Regions from separate parts of the Homo sapiens genome. Here regions 1 and 2 are each linked to region 3. The links are contacts of gene promoters, found by promoter capture Hi-C in human tissues and cell types (Jung and others, 2019). All regions are on one chromosome and are shown on one strand. Each heading gives the region's core, a stretch centred on a gene start or on the middle of the fragment in contact. The rest is flanking DNA. Distances are from core to core; before and after follow the strand shown. Region 1 has its middle 18 kb from the start of LINC02175. Region 2 overlaps ARHGAP17 (Rho GTPase activating protein 17). Region 3 holds the start of AQP8 (aquaporin 8).

Evidence for each region. Contacts are between HindIII fragments. The study calls those that stand out against the background at their distance.
Region 1: a fragment that was not itself captured here is called in contact with the fragment with the promoter of AQP8 in region 3 in 1 of the 25 tissues and cell types used here (bladder).
Region 2: a contact is called between a fragment that was not itself captured here and the fragment with the promoter of AQP8 in region 3, in 2 of the 25 tissues and cell types used here (IMR-90 fibroblasts and aorta).

What each region holds. Positions count from the first base shown.
Region 1 is chr16:25,083,459-25,086,692 of GRCh38, forward strand. No RefSeq gene overlaps it. Among named protein-coding and RNA genes, the nearest start is that of LINC02175, 18 kb to the left of the region's middle. The HindIII fragment of the contact is 4,255 bases long and covers 1-3,234 here.
Region 2 is chr16:24,961,158-24,964,848 of GRCh38, forward strand. ARHGAP17 (Rho GTPase activating protein 17) reads right to left here. Exons shown (of 20, transcript NM_001006634.3): 7 at 3,040-3,151. Among named protein-coding and RNA genes, the nearest start is that of ARHGAP17, 52 kb to the right of the region's middle. The HindIII fragment of the contact is 8,561 bases long and covers 1-3,691 here.
Region 3 is chr16:25,214,978-25,218,248 of GRCh38, forward strand. AQP8 (aquaporin 8) reads left to right here and starts at 1,970. Exons shown (of 6, transcript NM_001169.3): 1 at 1,970-2,080; 2 at 2,221-2,468. The coding sequence starts at 2,069. The HindIII fragment of the contact is 27,087 bases long and covers 1-3,271 here.

The DNA of each region.
Region 1 (3,234 bases), core at 438-2,937, 130 kb before region 3:
GAGGAATCTGCCTTAGGAGAAATCTTGCCCAAAGTCTCACCTGTATCTGATTCAAATGAGACTCTGGACTCTTGACTTGGTGCTGGAACAAATGAAAACATTAAACCTGTTGGGATGGAATGAATGTACTCTGCATGTGAGAGGACATGAATTTGGGGGGCTGGGGCAGAATGCTATGGTTTGACTGTGTTCCCCAAAGTTCATGTGTTGGAAACTTCATTCCCCATCCAGCAGTGTTGAGGGGGCGGATTTTTAAGAGGGGATGGGTCACGGGGCCCTGCCCTCATGAAAGCGTTAGTTATCGCAGGAGGGGTTCCTGATAAAAGAATAAGTACAGGCCCCTTCCCCCCTCTTCCTCTCCTGCAGGCAAGCATGCCCTCTTGCCCGTCCACCTTCCACCATGGGATGATGCAGCAAGAAGGCCCTCACCAGATGTGGGCCCCTTGACCTTGGACTTCCCAGCGTTGAGAACTGTAAGAATAAATCTTTGTTCTTTAGAAATTACCCAGTCTCAGATATTCTGTTACAGCAGCACAAAACAAAGTGAGACAGAGGGTGTAGGGCAGGAAATTTCCTCACCCAATTCAGTGAAACTGTAAATTGGTAAAAAAAGGACTTGAAAAGCCTGGCAGTGGCTATTCATAATGTGCAAACTCTGCACTAGCGATTCCTGCAAACATGCACATATACTTGTATTTGCTATAACACTGTTTAATATAAAAACATAGGCTGGGCACAGTGGCTCACACCTGTAATCCCGGCACTTTGGGAAGCTGAGGTGGGCAGACTGCTTGAGCTCAGTTCAAGACCAGCCTGGGCAACTTAAGCCCAGGAGTCTGAGGCTGCAGTGAGCTGTGATCGAGTCTCTGTACTCCAGCCTGGGCAACAGAGTGAGACCCTGTTTCAAAAGAAAACAAAACAAAACAAAAAATAAAAAGGCAAAAATCTAAGTGATTATCAGTAGGGAACAGATTAAATGGAGGGGAATTTCCCCTCTATTAAGATTAAATAGATTAAATAGAGGGGAATTTCCACAAAGGAGTACAATAAAGCAATTATAAATAACGATGCAGATCTGTATATGCTGACATGAAAAGAGCAAGTTACAAAACATGTATGTTATTCACTATTAAAATTACATAAATGTTTATATTTATAAACAAGTGGTAGAGACTCATTCATTCAACAGAAATATACTGAACTACAGGATATAGCTGTTCAGTGTGTATGTACATTTGTTCAACAGAAATATGTTGAACCAAAAAAAAAAGAAAAGAAAGAGGAGGAGATGAGTCCATGTACTCCTCAGTTTACTCATGAGCTCATTTACTGCACAAATGCAGACACTCACTACAAAAATGGCAAATATATATTTGCTACTGTTCAAAGCAAGAGCCCCTCTAAAAAGGCCTTCACTAGCTACTGGGAAGGCTACATTTGAGGCTACAATGAGCTATTAACCTGCCACTGCACTCCAGCTTGCGTAACGGGAGACCTTATTTACAAAAAAAAAAAAAAAAAAAGAAGTAAATAAACAAGACTTTAATTACATTCGGCCCTAAGCACATACAGTAAAAATTCAGTGGATGCAGGTCTCAGGTGAGGTCAGCGAAGCATTATGCTCAGCATTTGATGTCCAAATCACAAACGGATCATGAAATACTTACATGTAGAAATAACTAAGACTTGGCTGGGCGCAGTGTCTCATGCCTGTAATCCCAGCACTTTGGGAGGCCAAGGGTGGGTGGATCACGAGGTCAGGAGTTCAAGACCAGCCTGAACAATATGGTGAAACCCTGTCTCTACTAAAAAGTACAAAAATTAGCCGGGCTTGGTGGCACACGCCTGTAATCCCAGCTACTTGGGAGGCTGAGACAGGAGAATCGATTGAACCTGGGAGGCAGAGGTTGCAGTGAGCTGAGATTGCGCCATTGCACTCCAGCCTGGGCAAAAAGCGCAAAACTCCGTCTCAAAAAAATAAATAAAAAGCATATTTAATATAAAATATAGCTTTATATTGGGAAAGGCTGAAAAACTTAATTTCATAAGACAAACTAGAAAAAATAAAGCTTGACGAATATTTCCCATTTGTAAGTATTAGTCTTCTCTACAGGACAAGCTGAAACACATATTAATTTTTTAAAAGAATTAAGATTTTATTTACATGATTGATTAAAAGGGGTATGGGAATGTAGTTAAAACTAGTAAGAAGCCTTGAACTTGGGCTTAAAGTCACAGTTTAAATCTCAGCTCCACTCTTTCCTAGCGAGGTGACCTTGGGCACATTATCTTCTTTGAGCCTCAGTTTCCTCATCTGCAAAAACGTGATAATAACAGCACTTAATTCACGAGTCCGCTGTGAGGACTGAATGAAACAACCCAAGCAAACCACTTAACATGCTACTAGGCACGAACACTCAGCACACATTAGCAAACTTGTCATCTGCAACTTTGCAAACTCCTTGAATACCGGACTCGGAATGGCCCCATAATATCTCATCTATAATAACTAACTTCAGTCTTCCATTCATTCACACATACAAAAACCATTTACTGCACATCTAGTCTGGGCCAGGTAACCTTCTCTATGCCCTGGGGATCAAGAAAGACACATAAAGATTCAGATTATGAAATTATGAGAGGTCATTTTTTAAATGTTCAGGCAAATTACATTAATTGCTAGAAGAGTCGTAAGGAAAAGGATATCGCATTCTGAAGACTGCACGACATGCTGGAGTGAGGATCCCAGGCCAAGAAAGCAAGTGGGGAGGGGGTCAAAGGAAAGCAGTTCCCTAAAGTGAAATCTGCCATCTACCGAGAGCTGGGTGTGAATTCTACCTGGTTCTTTTTCTTCTGGCTAAACCACACTTACTTAATACTGTGTAGCTTTCTCATGACGATCATTTGAAAGTTGACCTCAACTTATTTATTTACTTATTTAATTATTGACACGGAGTATCACTCTGTCACCCAGGCTGGAGTGCAGTGGTATGATCATGGCTCACTGCAACCTCCACTTCCCAGGTTCAAGTGATTTTCCTGCCTCAACCTCCTGAGTAGCTGTGATTACAGGTGCATGCCACCATGCCGGGCCAATTTTTGTATTTTTAGTAGAGACAGGGTTTCATCATGTTGGCCAGGGTGGTCTCGAACTCCTGGCCTCAAGTGATCTGCCCGCCTTGGCCTCCCAAAGTGCTGGGATTACAGGTGTGGGCCACGGTGCCCAGTCAAACT
Region 2 (3,691 bases), core at 947-3,446, 250 kb before region 3:
TCAGCAATGTCATATTGTTATTGTCACATATGTATAAAAATATGTCTTGACAAAAAAACAAGAAATTAGTACAGTTATTACCTATTGGGAGCAATGGAAATTAGGCAGGAGGAGGATAATGGTAGAAGAAAGACTTCACGGTACACTGTTTTACACTTTTTCATATCTGACCTAATGTAAATGAATTACATATATAAAAATTAAATAATTTTGTGAACAGTGACAGGCTGAGTGTGGTGGCTCACACCTACAATCCCAGCACTTTGGGAGGCTGAGGTGGGAGGATTGCTTGGAGCCAGGAATTTGAGAACAGCCTGGACAACAGAGCAAGATCTAGTCTCTAAGTAAAAAAAAAAAAAAATTTTTTTTTTTTTTTTTTTTTTTTTTGAGATGGAGTCTTGCTTGCTCTGTAGCCCAGGCTGGAGTCTGGTGGCGCAATCTTGGCCCACCGCAACCTCCATCTCCGGGGTTCAAGCGATTCTCCTGCCTCAGCCTCCTGAGTAGCTGGGACTACAGGTGCATACCACCATACTCAGCTAATATTTTTCTGTTTTTTAGTAGAGATGGAGTTTCATCATGTTGGTCAGCCTGGTTTTGAACTCCTGACCTCAAGTGATCCTCCCATCTCAGCCTCACAAAGTGCTAGGATTACAGATGTGAGCCACTGCACCTGGCCAAAAAGAAATTTTAAGTGACAGATTAGGCAATTAGGTACGTATTTCCAATCTTCAAATATAAATATACATAGGAATTTTATATATATATATATATATGAAAACTTATATGCCGGAAAATATATATGTAGAGAGAGTTTGTTTTTTTTTTAATGTAATGACTTCTGTTTTTGGCATCAAGGTACACAAATTAATGTGAAGGGCCTCCCATTTATGACAAAAACTTGGAAATGCTAGTTAGAAGTAATGAACATCCTTTTATAATAACTGGGAAAGCAATAAAGTAAATTCCTTGATTCCCCTCAACCCCACCATACACACACACACACAAAGAGAGAAAGAAGAAAAAGAAGCAGAAAGAAAGAAAAAGTCGGAATGCTAAGCATCAATGGAAGCTGGAGATGACCTGGGGCAGATTTGTGCCAGTCTTGGTGACCAAGGTGTCTGAAGCCTTGGGGACTAGTAAGGAGAAACAAGTACACATATATCATGCATAAAGATAAGATTCCTGAAGAACTGTACTCTCAACGAAACAACAGATTAGAACAAATGCACTTAGCATCACATGGAAATCATGGGGAAGTATGTCTGTTTTGGAATGGGCTTTAGGTCTGAGAAACATTGGCCAAGAGATTTCACAAAACATAGGCCTGCTTTCAGGAGGGTTTAAAGTTTAAATTTACTGACATGTGGTCCCAGAAACCCCAAACTGATTTAAGTTTAATTAAAAATGGACCTGGACTGGTAATACTCTCTGGGAAGTCTCATTCCCAATCCCTGATAGTCCCACAGATAAAGCCCCTCTTAAAATGAGTTCAAATAATTACAAAACACATGAGGAAATAATCCACCACAAGCAGACACCTACCACTCTCACAGAGAATTTCAGAAAACAGAATTAACAGAGATTATTAAATAAGTATGTTTAAAATGACTTAAAAGAAAGAAACACTAGAAAAGAATAATGTAGTATCAAAAAGATTTGAATAACTAGAACTTCAGAAATGGAAAATATAGTCAATGAAATTAAAAACTCAGTGTTATTTGAGTAGCAGATCAAACATAGCTAAAGAGAGAATCAGTGAAACAGAACATAGATCTGAGGAAATTACCCACAAGGTATGCATAGAGAGAGAAGGAGGCAGAAAATATTTTCTTAAGTTTTTACCACTTGAAATACTGACAAGTGTGGAAGTTGAGAGAACAGACATCAGCCCATGATGACTTCCTAAACCTCTACCCAAATTTGTGTGCAATAAGTAGGCAATAGCCAGGATCTAGGTTAGACCAGATATTAAGAAGACTGCTGGGTAAATGACACTGACAAAGCTACAACTCTTCAGACCACAAATAAGCCAATGTGACATTATTTTAGTAGAAGCATTTATCTGAATATCATCTTTTAAACATAAAAACTTTTTAAAACAAAGGCATAACTTTGTGAGTTTAGTTTTAATTTCTACCCACTATATTATTTTTATATTTTTCTTATATTTCTACCCACTATATTATTTTAAACAAGTCATTTAATTGCAGTTAACTGATCAAGGTTTGCTATTTTGAAAAGCAAAGTATGTCATGACCTAAATGAACTAAAATATAACAGTCTTAATATTAGCAGGAAATAAAAAAACAATTTTTTTAAAACAATGAAAAATAAGAGCAGGAAAAGTCTAAGTCAATCCAGACTTAAGACTCTAGATTGTCAAGACTCCCCGAAGACCTATTCCTTTACCATTTCAAATAATTTCACCTCAAATAACATTCAGAATGAACATCTATCTACACAGGTGGATGCAGAGAGAATGAGATCACTTGACCATCTAATTAATCTGTAATTTATGAGATAAAAAGCTCTATTTCTCCCAAATTACAAACCAATTGTTCAAGCAACATTTTAAAAGTAATCCTTATCTTCTCCAAGGACATATGAGCCATTTACTGTATATTAAATTTTACATTATAGCATTCATTCCAGAAAACCTATACTATTTCACTGATCTATTTTAATGCTTCTTATACAGTTTTACTTCTTTTTTCTTACTTTTGTATTTCTTATGCATTTTTAATCGCTGTAATTTTATTATATGTTTTGCTATGGTTTTCTTTCCTTTTTTCTGACTTCATCTTTAAATAAGCTTAGACATCTTGTCAAGTTTTTAAAAATATCCTATTTGAAATTTAAAATGTTTTATTCTGATCATAAAATAATATAGTCTTAGAGAAGAAGAAAATAAAACCTACCTTTAAAATCATTCAAAATATTCTGATAGAAATTATTTAAAACATTAAGTAACTTACATTTGAACTTTCATCCCTCATTTGCAAAAACCGAAAAGATACATTTATCAAGGAATTCTCATACCTTGCACTGTTCTACTTTATTTCCAGCTTCATCCATCTCTTCCTTTAGAGTATCTATTTTTGATGGAAGCCCCTGAAAGTTGGTTCCTGAGGATTTGTGAGCTTGGTTCCACCTGCAAAACAAAGGGGTCACCAGCATCTGAGAACCAGCTGTGTATACTCAACAGCTGGAGGCAGGACCTGGTGGAGATAGATCCTTCCCCACAATTGATTCTACCTGGAAGGGGTATCATTGCCCAGGATGCCAAATTCTCTTGAGCTTATTCTCTAAGAATGGAAGCAGGCAAAAGGAGACTTTAGCTTCTCACCATGACAGGACTCTCATAGTGCTAGGAGTAGTGGTCTGCTTTGAGCATAACCAACCACATCTTGTCTCACACAAACTCTACTACTGGAGAGAAATCCATGGAACCCCTTTCTTGTGGTGGCCAACCATGGAATCCCTGCCACCGGAGGAGAGCAAGGTGCTCTCCTTGCTCTCTTGCTTTGAGCTGAAATGTTCCCTGTGCCACTGGGAATCAGCTCCTGCTTTTGAGAACTCCTTGTGGCTCTTTCCACTACCATACTACCATCTGTGACCTGGGATTACTTTCAGAAAGTAAAAGCCAGAACTTCAATAGTGTAGCTATGAGGCTGGGTGCGGTGGCTCACGC
Region 3 (3,271 bases), core at 720-3,219:
AAGCACACCCAGCATTTGGAACCATTTTTAAGTGTACATTTCAGTGACATTAAGTACTTCACATTGTTGTGCCACTGTATCATCCATCCCAAAACTTTCCTCCCAAACAGGAAATCTGTACCCGCTAAACACAAACTCTTCATTCTCCCTTCCCCTCGGGCCGTGGAAACCACCATTCTACTTCTGTCTCTATGAATTTGACTAGTCTAGGTACTTCATACAAGTGGAATCAGATACAGTATTTATCCTTTTGTGACAGCCCACAAGTTCTGTGATCATATAAGCTGTGTAATCTTGGGAAACTCAATCTTCCTGACACTCCACTTCCTCGTCTGTGAAATGGTTGTAATAATAGTACCTGCTTCACAGGGTGGCAGTGAGGTTTAAATGAGATAATAGAAGGCACTTAGCCCCAGTGCCTGGCACATAGAAAGTGCTCACTATTAGCTATTAGTTACAGCTAAGCATGTATTGTAAATTAGTGGACACTGGTATTGTGTGTCTAGCACTGTCCTGAGCACTTTACCCGTATTATCTCATTTAAACTTCCCAACGACCCTATGACATGGTGAAACCACTAACATCCACACCTAACAGATGAGAAAACAAAGGCCCAGAGAGGCCAAGTCATGTGCCCAAGGGTTACATAGCTAGTTTACAGCAGAGCTGGGATTGAACGCCAGGCAGCCTATTTCCAAAGTTCATGGGTCTTGCCGCTGCATTGCATTACCTCTTGCCAGTCTCTGCTGCCTCTGTCTGTGAAGGATCGTCATCTATACACTCAGTCCTGGCTCAGGCTGTCACGGTGACTGCAGGTGTTTGAAGCTGTGGGACTCATTGGAAAAATAATTGAAAATGGGATTGCTGTTTCTTTCTTTTCTTTTTTCTTTCTTTCTTTCTTTTTTTTTTTTTTTTTTTTAGACAGGGTCTCACTCTGAGGCTGAAGTGCAGTGGCGCGATCTTGGCTCACTGCAACCTCTGGGTCCTGGGTTCAAGTGATTCTCATGCCTCATCCTCCTGAGTAGCTGGGATTACAGGCAAACACCAACACGCCCTCTCTTTCTTTCTCCTTCCTTCCTTCTTTTCTTTCTTTTTCTTTTTTCTTTCTTTCTTTCTTTCTTTCTTTCTTTCTTTCTTTCTTTCTTTCTTTCCTTCCTTCTTTTCTTTCTTTCTTTTTCTTTCTTTTTCTTTCTTTCTTTCTTTCTTTCTTTCTTTCTTTCTTTCTTTCTTTCTTTCTTTTTCTTTCTTTCTTTCTTTCTTTCTTTCTTTCTTTCTTTCTTTCTTTCTTTCTTTCTTTTCTTTCCTTTCTTTCTTTCTCTGTCTTTCTTTCTTCTTTCTCTTTCCTTTTTTTTTTTTTTCAGAGCCTTGCTCTGTTGCCCAGGCTGGAGTGCAGTTGCACAATCTTGGCTCTGCGCAATCTTCGTCTCCCAGGTTCAAATGATTTTCCTGCCTTAGCCCCCCAAGTAGCTGGGATTACAGGCGTGCACCACCACGCCCGGCTGAGTTTTGTATTTTTAGTAGAGACGGGGTTTCACCGTGTTAGCCAGGATGGTCTCAATCTCCTGACCTCGTGATCCACCTGCCTCGGCCTCCCAAAGTGCTGGGATTACAGGCGTGAGCCACTGCACCTGGCTGTTTGCTGTTTCTTAACATGTGAGGTTCCAACCCAGTGGGGCCCACTAACATGTGCTGTTCTGCTTTGGACCGTGGGGAGCTGGGGTGCTGGACCCATCTCCCACCTTCTACAGCCTGGAGTGTGCTCCCAGATGACACAGCCAAGCTGGCGTGTTTTTCCCTCACTGGCGGAAAGTTCAGCAATCCCTGACTCCCTCACCCTGCCCTGTTGAGATTTAAAAAAATTTCCTCTTCTGGGCCTCAGAGCCGCCTCCTACCTGAGGTTTATTGCTTTCTCTGCACCAGCATTGAGCCTCTGCAGCCCTTTAAAAGGGGCAGAGCCCATAGTGTGATCAGCAGGTCCTGTCCCTAGGAGATAAGAGTATCTTGCACAGCAGGTGCAGGTTTCCCAGCAGCTCAGGCAAGAGTCCGATGTTTGTGCCATCTGATCCTGATGTCTGGAGAGGTGAGCCCTCTGTCGGCATCTTCCTCTCCAGGCTGGCAGAGCAAGGGGGGCTGTGAATTAATTCAAGGTTGGGGGTCGGGGCCTTCTATATCTGGACTTGCCTCCCACCCGTGTCCTCTGTCCCTTTTTCCCTACGGCAGATAGCCATGTGTGAGCCTGAATTTGGCAATGACAAGGCCAGGGAGCCGAGCGTGGGTGGCAGGTGGCGAGTGTCCTGGTACGAACGGTTTGTGCAGCCATGTCTGGTCGAACTGCTGGGCTCTGCTCTCTTCATCTTCATCGGGTGCCTGTCGGTCATTGAGAATGGGACGGACACTGGGCTGCTGCAGCCGGCCCTGGCCCACGGGCTGGCTTTGGGGCTCGTGATTGCCACGCTGGGGAATATCAGGTGAGACCAGCTCTGAGGATTCAGCCTGATGCTGACTTGGGGCACTGGGTGTGGAAAGCAAAGGCGTTGTCAAGGACCCCTGGGCGCATACGTATTCGGGATTTCAAGGAGCGCTCTGGATAACTATGGGGTTGGGAGTCAGACTGGGGTCAACTCCAGACCCCGCAGCCTGTGAGCTTGTGACTTTGAGCAAGTCATTCTCTTTTTGAGTAGCTGGATCACAGGCATGCGCCGCAGCACCCAACTAATTTTTAAATTTTGTTGTAGAGATGGGGTCTCACTATGTTGCCCAGGCTAGTCTTGAACTCCTGGTCTCAAGCGATCCTCCTGCCTTGGCTTCCCAAAGTTTTGGGATTACAGGCATGAGACACCATGCCTGGCTGGCAAGTTACTCTCTAAACCCAAAGTTCCCCGCCTATAAAATGGGAATAGTAGCTTTTAAATGTTTTTTTTTTCAAGCCAACATATCTATATTGCTAACCATGTACCAGGCACTAGTCTAATTACTTTATAGATATTAGTTATTTAATCCTCACAAAAGCCTTGTGGGGTAGGTCCTGTTATTAGCCCCATTGTACAGCTGCAAAAGTGAAAGGCCATGTAATCTGTCCAAGCTTAGAGGGCCAGAAAGTGGCAGAGGCGGGAGTCAAGAACAAGCTGTCTGGCTCCAGCGCTCAAATCCAAGTGCCTCATGCGGAAGTCATGAGAATTAAATGAAGTAGAGCGCCTGGCACACACCAAACATACAACAGGCATTGGTTGCTGTGTTATTGTTACCACTAGAAGGGGGTTTTAGGGAAAGC